2 separate regions of the Homo sapiens genome follow, and region 1 is linked to region 2. Evidence: promoter capture Hi-C in 16 types of primary human blood cells and fetal thymus (Javierre and others, 2016). All regions are on one chromosome and are shown on one strand. The core of a region is centred on a gene start or on the middle of the fragment in contact, and the rest is flanking DNA. Distances in the headings are between cores, read along the strand shown. Region 1 overlaps IPPK (inositol-pentakisphosphate 2-kinase). Region 2 holds the start of ASPN (asporin).

Region 1 (4,886 bases), core at 1,816-4,315, 180 kb before region 2:
AAGAACAGAGACTACAAGCTTTGCTCAAGATCTTTAGGTGAATTAATAATGGACCAGGCTAACCTAAAGCTGTCCTTCTCTTGTGTAGTCCACTATTGGCAAAGTGAGGGATGTTTCTGCGTGAGTCCTTTTGTTGTTGGGTTACTGTGCTGATCCCCTGAATCCTTTCCCAAAACAAATACTAATCTTCCAATTCCTTGGTAAGATTAGATGTATCTCTGCATTTTAGGTAAACCTAAGACTTTTCTTTAGTGAGGGCTGATACATTAAATTTCAAAAGTAGTGGCAGATGAAGCAGCAAGTTTCAGGCTTGGAGCAAAAGGACACCCATGTTGAAAGAGCAGAGGCTTTGACGCAGTTGCCTCTGGCACTTGGATCTCTCTGCACGTTCCAGACAAGTATGTGTCCACCCCCTTCCCTGAGTAGGCATCTCCAGGGCAGCCTGGCCCTACCCTGTTGCACAGCTCTGATTGTAATGATTGTTTATTTTTATTTATTTATTTATTTAGAAACGGGGTCTCACTCTGTTGCCCAGGCTGGAGTGCAGTGGCGCGATCTCGGCTCACTGCAACCTCCGCCTCCCAGGTTCAAGCGATTTTCCTGCCTCAGCCTCCCGAGTAGCTGGGATCACAGGCATGCGCTACCGTGCCCAGCTAATTTTTGTATTTTTAGTAGAGATGAGGTTTCACCGTGTTGACCAGGCTGGTCTCCAACTCCTAACCTCAAGTGACACCCACCTCAGCCTCCCAAAGTGCTGGGATTACAGGCGTGAGCCACCACGCCAGGTTGATTGTTTATTTTTTCTTTCACCTTTTCAAATTTACCTACAGCCACCAGGCTGTTCTAGACCTATGCTATTCATTCTTTTTTTTTGAGACGGAGTCTTGCTCTGTCTCCCAGGCTGGACTGCAGTGGCGCAATCTTGGTTCACTGCAACCTCTGCCTCCTGGGTTCAAGCAATTCTCCTGCCTCAGCCTCCCAAGTAGCTGGAATTACAGGTGCCTGCCACCATGCCTGGCTAATTTTTTTGTATTTCACCACGTTAGCCAGACTGGTTTCAAACTCCTGACCTCAAATGACCCGCCCGCCTCAGCCTCCCAGAGTGCTGGGATTACAGGTGTGAGCCACTGTACTCAGCCTCATTTTTTATTTTAAATCTAAACTTGCTTTACTGTGCTCATTCCTGCTTGGTTGTTGTTTTTAGCTCATCATTTGAAATTGAAGATTATCACTGCACATAGTCTCATGAGAAAATGTTTCCCATCAAGTTAAGGTCAGATGGAGCCTGTGCCTGATGTGGTAACCTGAACCAAGCCTAGCCCACCAGCTCTGCCCTGTGGCCTGTTTGCTCAGGCTGTGGACCGAGGAGGAGAGAGAGCAATTCCCAGAAGGCAGCTTTTTAGGACCTGTTGAGTTCGAGCAGAGGGTGTGTGTCAGTGGGATAAGAGATGGGTGAGGTAGAATAGGAGGAGTCCGTGGTCTTGTGGATGCTGAGCATGCGCCCAGCCTCCTTCCAGCCGGGTGTGGGAGCAGGTGGACCCTGCTACTGTACTCCTTAGATCCACCTCATTCAGTCCAAGAGAGAGGGAGGCCTTTGCCAAGTTTTTCCAGGTAAGGAGAGGGTTGCTTTCTCTGAGAGGACATCAGCTTCTCTCAGAATTGAAAGGTCCCTAATGAGTCCTGTGCTGACCCCCATCCCCTCTACCATGAGAACATGATGCGCCTTCAGCCAGCCTGAGCTCGTCCTGCAGGAGCCGAGGGCCTAGGTAAGGAGATCTGCATGGTCATTGGCTGTCAGCACTAGAAGGAGCACAGTGATGTTCTTCCTGCAGTATGCAAACATGGGATGAGAGAGAGCCTTCTGTGCAGCGCAGGACTTGTAGGAAATGAGGCCTGGGGATGGAGGAACTAGGTGTGGGCTACAGGAGGGTGGGAGGTTGTGCCCAGGGTGGGCAGGAAGGTAAATAGCAGGCCAGCCATAGAGAGGCGTTTAAAGGTGTTCCTGACAGAAGGTGGTCAGCTTCCCCAAGGCCCTTCCACTCAGAGACGGCCCAGGATGATTCTCATTTTGCCTGTCAGTTTGCATTCTGCCTCTGTTTGGGATGGTTGTGCACCTGAACTTTCCCAGGCACAGGTAACCATGGTGTTCTCTGCCTCATGTGGTGTGGACCCTGTGGCATGCTTGAGAGGCTCTCGGCAGCCTGGCATGTTCCCTGGTGTGTGTCTGGAGCTCCAGACACTGACCCTGTGGGGGCTCCTTGATGAGGGAACTTCCCATCTGGGCACAGTTTCCTCGCTGCAGCCTGAAGGTGCAGTACTTGGGCCAGTGGCCACATCTCAGGTTAGTGAAGTCCACAGGTTGCCCCTTTATGCACTGCCGCAGGATTTCTCTCCTGTGTGACGCCTGCGCCTGCCTCCTTCGCCTTCAGCTTGTTGGTTTTGGCTCAGTGTCCTGTCCTATGAAGGTCACTTTAGGTTTGGTTTGTCATTCCATCTCCTAGGTGTCTTCAGATCTGGATCATGCACTTGTCTGGGGCACTGAGCCCCTTCCGGACCACCTCAGCCTTGGGGAGCAGGGGCAGAAGGTGGCCCACTCCTGTCATGACACTAAGCTGTCATGATGTTTTCCTTCTTACTGACAGAGGTGACAGGAAAGACTTTGCCATTTAGTTGGCTTACCAGCCAACTAAATTGATCACATGTGTGGACAAAGCTGCTCACTTCCAGTTGTTCCAGTTTCGTGACCTTTCTGAGAGTCTGAGAGCTTCAGATCATTTCTGCAAATTGTTTTGTTGCCTGGGGAGTTTTGGTGTCCCTTTGGTACCTGTTTAGTGCTTGGGATATTTGTCTGGGCATTGAAGGTGTGAAGCTCAAGCGGTCAGGTGCCCTTCTACTGTTTCTCTTCTCATCTTGTGTTTTAAGATTTCTGGTTCATAGATCATATATATATGTATTTTTTTTGCCATACAGCATGATTTTGTATATTTTAATAATTTAAATGATTATTTTGTAGTGGATGAATTAAGTCCTTTATATGAGGATGTGTTTACAGTTACGTAGAAAAAGCAGGTTACAAAAGAAGATGCATGATGTGGTTATAATTACAAAATGATTAGAAGAAAATAGATGAAAATGTTCTAAGTGGCTGTAACTGATAGTATCACGAATCACTTTTACTTTTTTTTGTTTTTTAAATATTTTCTGAATTTCCTACAATGGATATGTATGATACTCAGGAAAAAAGATTAATTTTTAAAAAGTTTATACTCTTTGATTTACTAATTTCTGTTCTAGTAGTCCGTTCTAAGGAGATAATTAGAAACGTAAATAAAGATCTTATACACAAAGATATCCATTACAGAATCACTTAGAACAGGTTAAGTGGAAAGCCATTGTGCAGTCCTGCAGGACTGTTAACTGGGCCATACTTCCTACTGTGGATGCTGAAAGCACATACGTTTATGTTCTCTGTTTTTTTCTGACTGTATAACATGTGCCCAAGCCCTTGGTCGCTCCCTTTTACAATTTTTAGCTGGACCTAGTTGAAATAGTCTTAGCTTTCTGTTACTGCTAGCATTTTGTTTAAACTAGTGATGTATTCTGCATTTGGGATTTTTAGTGGCGCTCTAGGCTGACGCAGCTGATGTGGCTTCTTTCCTGGTGATGTTCCTTCTTGTCTCATTTGAGCTCATTGGAGAGCTGTGCTTGTGGCTCGCTCTTTGTTTATTCCTTTCTTTGTATCTGCAGTTGCGTGATGAGGTCTGCTGTTTGGTGACTGCAGCCTGTGACAGTGCCTCTCGTGCACGGGGGTTTGTTGGTTTGGCCTTGGCTCACCTCCTACTTTTACACCTTCTGAGGTCACACAGCCACTTTTCTTCTGCCTGACTGAGCCTCCTTCTGCATCAGAATTCAGTCAGAGCAAAGCTCCCCAGTGACTTCCTGTGTCTTCTGAGAGCTGCGATCCAGGAGGGTGAGAAAAGCATCATTACTGTGTCTGCAGAGAGCAAGGCTGTGCCTAGGGCCCGGCCACTCCTGCCTTGTTGCCAAGCGGTTGGGAGATCTGAGGGCCCGGACTTGCTCACAGTTCCCTGTGGCCCTCACTGTGGGCCTCTAGGCAGCCCTGCTTCCCCTTTACAGGCAGTGAGGCTTTCCATGCCTATAGGGGTCAGCCCCATGCACGAGGTGTGCCTATCCCCACAGGCCTCCCCATGTTCTGAGAGTTGTGTGGGTGTGTGACCTCCCCCATGGCCCACACCTGTGCCTGCTTCAGTCCTGCAGAGGACACCATGAGGTCAGGACGGAGTTGCCGAGGCTTGAGGACATGCCCCATACAGGTTGGACAAGGGGCCAGCACTTACTGCGCCCTGACCCCAGGCTGTCTCCAGTCTGGCCTCCCTGCTCTTGCCTGCAGAGTACTGGGCTCCCATCCTCCACAGGCATCTTGGTGATGTCACTTTTCATCCGGTGTCAAATGTGCTTTGTATTTCTATCTGAGGCCATACATTCCCAGTGAAGCGAAGCTCACCCTTGGGAGCGCTTCCTGTTGGAGCCCAGTACCGTAAGCCCTGCTTCTTGTTCCCTCCACGGTCCTACGCATCCTGGACATCCCTTTCTGGGTTGCAGAGGTGGACTTCGGCACCTCCTGCCCCTGGTGACTGACAGACCCCGGGCAGCCTTCTCTGGCTGGGACAGAGCTGGAGCTGGAGCTGCGGGGGTAAGCTAAGGAGGGTCTACAGGGAGGGCAGCCTCTTGAGACTGGACATTTGGGATCCCCCATGGCCCCTGCCTGGGAGTCATCTTCACAATTCGGAAGAAGCTGGAGCTGAGCATTGCTTCTAGAAGGCATCCTGAGGGGTGACCCCTGCTGCTGTTGTCTTTTTCTGTCT
Region 2 (5,294 bases), core at 1,987-4,486:
TTGTACCACTGCACTCCAGCATGGGTGACAGAGTGAGACTCTGTCAATCAATCAATCTTTTATTTGCATGAGACAGTTTCCAAGGTCCTCCCCTGTTCTTATTTGTGTTTGGACTTTGACCACTGTTGTCCATGTCTAGACCAGGAGAAGTTCTAGAAAGGGTGTGAGAAATCATACGAGAGCTTAGATTAGGCAATTTATTTTTATTTTCACGATGGTTAGCATATATAAGGCCAAAGGAAAATAAATTTGCATTAAAGTTCCTTTTATGGCAATCAATATTTTTATTCATAAACTGTCAGTACTGAGAATATTACTTTTTCAATTTTGTAATTTATCTTTGTGTTTGCAACATGTAAATTACTTGTGATTCCTAAATATACTGTTATAATGCAACTAGTTCTTCAATATTTAGACTAAGGCTCAATGAGGCAAAAATAAAACAATTTAAAAAGCATGGAGAAAAGAACTAGGTCCCCTCCATAGGACCCCTTTAGGAAACAAAAATGGAAGATTTTTCTCTTCACAATACTTGAGGGAAGAAGAGGTACACTGTTTCATTTGGAATGATAACCTGGAAAAGGGTGGAGATAAACTCCAGTTTCTTCCCAGATGGCACGTTCGTGCCTGCTGCACCATCTCTGGCAAATGTGAGGCAAAGCTTTCCATGTCACAGCCCCAAGATGGTGGAGGGTTGTGCCTGAGGCCTGCACCTTTACCACATTATCTGCAGAACAGAGTGAATAAGCCAAATATACTACCCCTAACCCCAGCATCTTATTCCAGGGCCTATTTCTTTCCCTAGGCCCTCTGACCAAAGATCGAAGCAAAATATCAGAGGAAGACTAGCTTAAGTCTCACAGTGGGGAGAAGGAAAAGTAGCTGTAACATATCTTTAGAAACACAATCTTACAGGAACTGCCTCTCAACTCTCTAGATATGGGAGGCAAAACTGCACCCAGAAAGGCCATGCAGGCAACTCGACTGAGGAGTGCCTTGGGTGGGTGACGTGGACAACATCCTGTGAGTATAGAAGAGAAAAACACAAGTCCCAGAGACAACAGTTGCCATGCAAAACCAGAAATCACAGACTGGGAAAGCCTAATTTTTAAAGAGAAGTTGAAATCTTATTTTTAAATACAGCAATTTCACCTAACAAAAATACATACACATGACCCCCAAATGACAGACTGAGGAACGTTCATAGTACCTCTCCAAAAGGTAATTAATCTAGTTGAATATATAAACAATTTGTGGCTTATTCATGTATGAGAATACTATACAGTGACAAGAATGAACTACTGTGTATCACAATGACACGAATGGATCTCAAAAGCATGTCACTGAATGAAAAAAGCCAGATGCAAAAGAGAATGCACAGTATGATTCCATTTATATAAAGTTCAGGAAATAACCTATGGTGCTGAACTCAGGCTGTGACTTGAGGAGTAAGAGGAGGGATTCTGGATGTATGAGAATGGAGTGTGAGGCTGGGATTTCTTGATTGGGGTCATTTTGTAAAAATTAATTGAGTTGTACCATTATGATATGTTTTTTTTTGGTAACATACACTTCAATAAACAGTTCAGAAACAAAACATTGTGCAGGACAAACTGAATTTGACCCAAGGGCTTCCTGTTTATGACTGTGTTCTGAAGGAATTTAGGCAAACACTAGATGCTCTGGATACAAAGATTTTAAAAATCCAGTTCATATTTTCATTATGTTCCCAATTCATCCAGTTAACAGATACATTTGCAACTGAAATATACTTGAATAAATGAGAATATGAGCATTCTAAACCAAACAGGAGGGCCGTCATTCCCTAAGGTGCTGCAGGGCTAGGATGGGGCCTGAGTTACAGAGGGCCACTAATGGGACTACCGAGCTGCCTGGAACTGTCAGCCTAGAGGTCCAAGGAGGAGTACTTTATTTAAGTGAGGGGAGGATGAACACATAGCCAGCTGCTATGCACATCTGAGGCACATGTATTCTTTAGGACTGTAGCTGCCTTGCTTAACACAATGTGTGCCATTTCTCTGGAGAGAGGGAACAAACGATGGTCAGACTCTTGATGACAGTAGAGAACAGGTCTTCTAACCCACTGGAAAAGCTCTTTGCTGGCCTCCAAATCTATACAACAGTTGGGAAGAACCATTGGGGTCACTTACAACAGTAAGTCCTTGCCACTAGGGTTAGAAAACTGTCCTCTCAGGCCGGCCATGGTGGCTCATGCCTGTAATCCCAGCACTTTGGGAGGCCGAGGCGGGCAGATCACGAGGTCAGGAGATCGAGACCATCCTGGCTAACACAATGAAACACTGTCTCTATTAAAAAACCAAAAAATTAGCCAGGCGTGGTGGCGGGCGCCTGCAGTCCCAGCTACTCGGGAGGCTGAGGCAGGAGAATGGCGTGAACCTGGGAGGCAGAGCTTGCAGTAAGCCAAGATTGCGCCACCGCACTCCAGCCTGGGTGACAGAGTGAGACTCCGTCTCAAAAAAAAAAAAAAGAAAACTGTCCTCTCTTGAAGGTCTTAGTTGATGTAGAATTGGGCAGTCTCTTGGGGATGAGTGGAAAGGGGGTACAAATAATGATTTATTTTCAGGAAATAGCATCTTCCCTGCTCTAAGTCTCCCTAAATGTCAGTGAGGCCATAGCTAATATTCTCTTGAAAAGGGAAAGTTGTATGCATCCTAAGAGGGTGTTACTTGGACATGCATGTGTGTCTGTGTTATATCACATATGTTGAGTCCAGGGAGCAGTTCATGGAGCCTCATCCATAGTTTCCCTGACATGCTATAGCAGTGCTAAAAGCTTAAAAAAAAAAAAAAGTCTGGAGAAGTATGCATAATGCAATAGCTACAGTCATTAGAAGAAAAAAAAAGTATGGTTCTTTCTCAGGTACATCTGAAGTTTGGGTATATACTTCAGTAATGTTGGTATCCTTTATTCAGATTGATAAATATTTTATTAGTCTATACAGGTTGAGTAATTTTTGAAATTGTAATTTACAAATATTCATTCACTTAAGAATCTAATATTTTTAAAACTAGGTATTTCTTGAATGACTCCGACTGCACTTTCAATGGCCAGTTGCCATGCATTATTAAACTTTCTTTTTTTTTCTTCTTCAGAATCTTCCAGTAGACGTCTAGAGTTTAGCTAGAAGTCTTGGCTACGATACAAACAGTGATGGAAAACACATGAGCAGTAACAAGTTTTAATCTTGCTCCTCAGTACTAACATGGACTAATCTGTGGGAGCAGTTTATTCCAGTATCACCCAGGGTGCAGCCACACCAGGACTGTGTTGAAGGGTGTTTTTTTTCTTTTAAATGTAATACCTCCTCATCTTTTCTTCTTACACAGTGTCTGAGAACATTTACATTATAGATAAGTAGTACATGGTGGATAACTTCTACTTTTAGGAGGACTACTCTCTTCTGACAGGTATGTTTCATGTCTATCTTACAAGTATCGATGTATACTTTACAGTCAATACTAAGGAGACATTAATGTTATTAATAAATGCTTATAAATAATAGGATAAAGTCCAAAGTTTATCTCTATAATTTCTTAAAAATCAGCATTTAAATACAAACCTAAATTTGTACCTAAAATTATTCTAGTTTTATGTCTTACCTATAATGAATGTATTTTAAATATAATTATGTGACTTTTTTTTTCAGCTAAGTGAAAACCTGTCATTATGCCTTACCATAAATGTTAACATGATTGATTTTAAAAGTCATCTAAATAAACATCTTGTATGTTTATCTAGGAAAATAACATTGCTATAATAATGATCATGAAGTTTGGGGATATCACAGCTATATTAAATGAAACAGTAAATATATTTTTCAATATTTAAAATATTTTCTAATGTGTATTTAAAATGTGTGAATTACTGAAATGTCAATTTTACTTATACATTTGAATATTCATTTTTTTCCTTGATAAATGTCTTCCTTATTATAATGAAATGGCACTGAAAAGTTCAAATGGAAATCTATTCAATTCCAAGAAAGAATACTTATCAGCAATAGTTTAGCTAGCACTATATTCAATATGAAAGATTAGGAAATTTTCACAGCATGTATACAGTCAGAATTTAACACTTTCAAAGATTTCCTTTGTCTACTCCCAAAGTAAATTTCTGATTAAATTTTAGATTAAAAAATTTAAGCAATGTATTCAATATTCTACTCCCTAGTAATCTAAATAGCGCACAGCATTCTTTCATGTTAATCTATTCAGAGGTGTGGCACCCAGGAAACAGTGGCCACATGGTGTAGGGACTGAGTCATAAAGAACCTGAGGGGGTTGTATTTCCCTAAAAATAAAGTTGTTTAAATCCAAGAATCAAGCTGTTAAAAGAAAGAAATGAAAAAAGAAAGAAAAATCGAGCACAAGCCCACACACATAAAAGGATCCTGATGTTTTTAGTTTGTTTTTTGGCATTAAGGAGTATAGTGTAGTAGTGGAAAGAACAGAGGATATATAGTCTTCTGTTACAACTAACTACTCAATTAAAAACAAATATTCTGATAACTGATCTGAGGTTTGAGACAAAAACAATTAACTTTACAAGCACAAGTCTTGAGGCACTGTGGGAAACATCATAAAAATGGAGAGGCAGTAGATTTTGTTTTTTAAGACAGTAGCTTGATTGCTAGACATGTGGAGAAATTAATGAAGGGCAAAATTAGTATAAAAGGAAGAACAGCTAGAATGCTTTGTCAGAATGCTAGTTATACTTCTAAGGTAAAATTAACTACTTTTTAAGGAAAGTGCTATCTTTATCAGTATCCATGAACAAATGGTACTGTGAATAAGTTTCCAAATGCATGTTGGACTTTTAACTCATTTGTTAGCTTACAAGACTATGCCTTGATTACATCTGAATTTGGTTTGGATTCCTTCGGTGAAATATATGGAGTATGTTATATCACATTTATATGCTGAAATCTGCTACTGGTACCTGTGAACTGATAGGCATGTTTAAACCCAGGGGAAAAGTTGCCAAGCGGGCCTTTAAACATGGGATTTAAAAGCACAGTGACTTATTTACCTAATAATAGTGTCTGAGAGGAAATACCATTTCACTTAGATAAACTTTCTAAGTTTGTAGACCAGTTAAATGGAAACAAGAAAGCTTATGTGCTTCTTAAGCTTTATTTCCAGTCCATATGTTATGAACTCTTTTAAGAACTTGGCCAAACCTCCTTACCTAGGCTTTTCCAGAGGAAAGTCTGTTTACTGTCTGGAAGTAACTATGAGATTAAAATCCATTTA

The links. The method cuts DNA at HindIII sites, captures the fragments that hold promoters and counts their contacts. A CHiCAGO score of 5 or more calls a contact.
Region 1: a contact is called between a fragment that was not itself captured here and the fragment with the promoter of ASPN in region 2, in 2 of 17 cell types (megakaryocytes and M1 macrophages). The highest score is 5.3, in megakaryocytes.

Annotation. Positions count from the first base shown.
Region 1 is chr9:92,663,890-92,668,775 of GRCh38, reverse strand. The region is part of intron 1 of IPPK (inositol-pentakisphosphate 2-kinase); the gene reads left to right. Among named protein-coding and RNA genes, the nearest start is that of IPPK, 3.8 kb to the left of the region's middle. The HindIII fragment of the contact is 6,089 bases long and covers 21-4,886 here.
Region 2 is chr9:92,480,448-92,485,741 of GRCh38, reverse strand. It overlaps ASPN (asporin), which reads left to right and starts at 3,236. Exons shown (of 8, transcript NM_017680.6): 1 at 3,236-3,449. All of the region lies in intron 5 of CENPP (centromere protein P), which reads right to left. The HindIII fragment of the contact is 2,340 bases long and covers 2,817-5,156 here.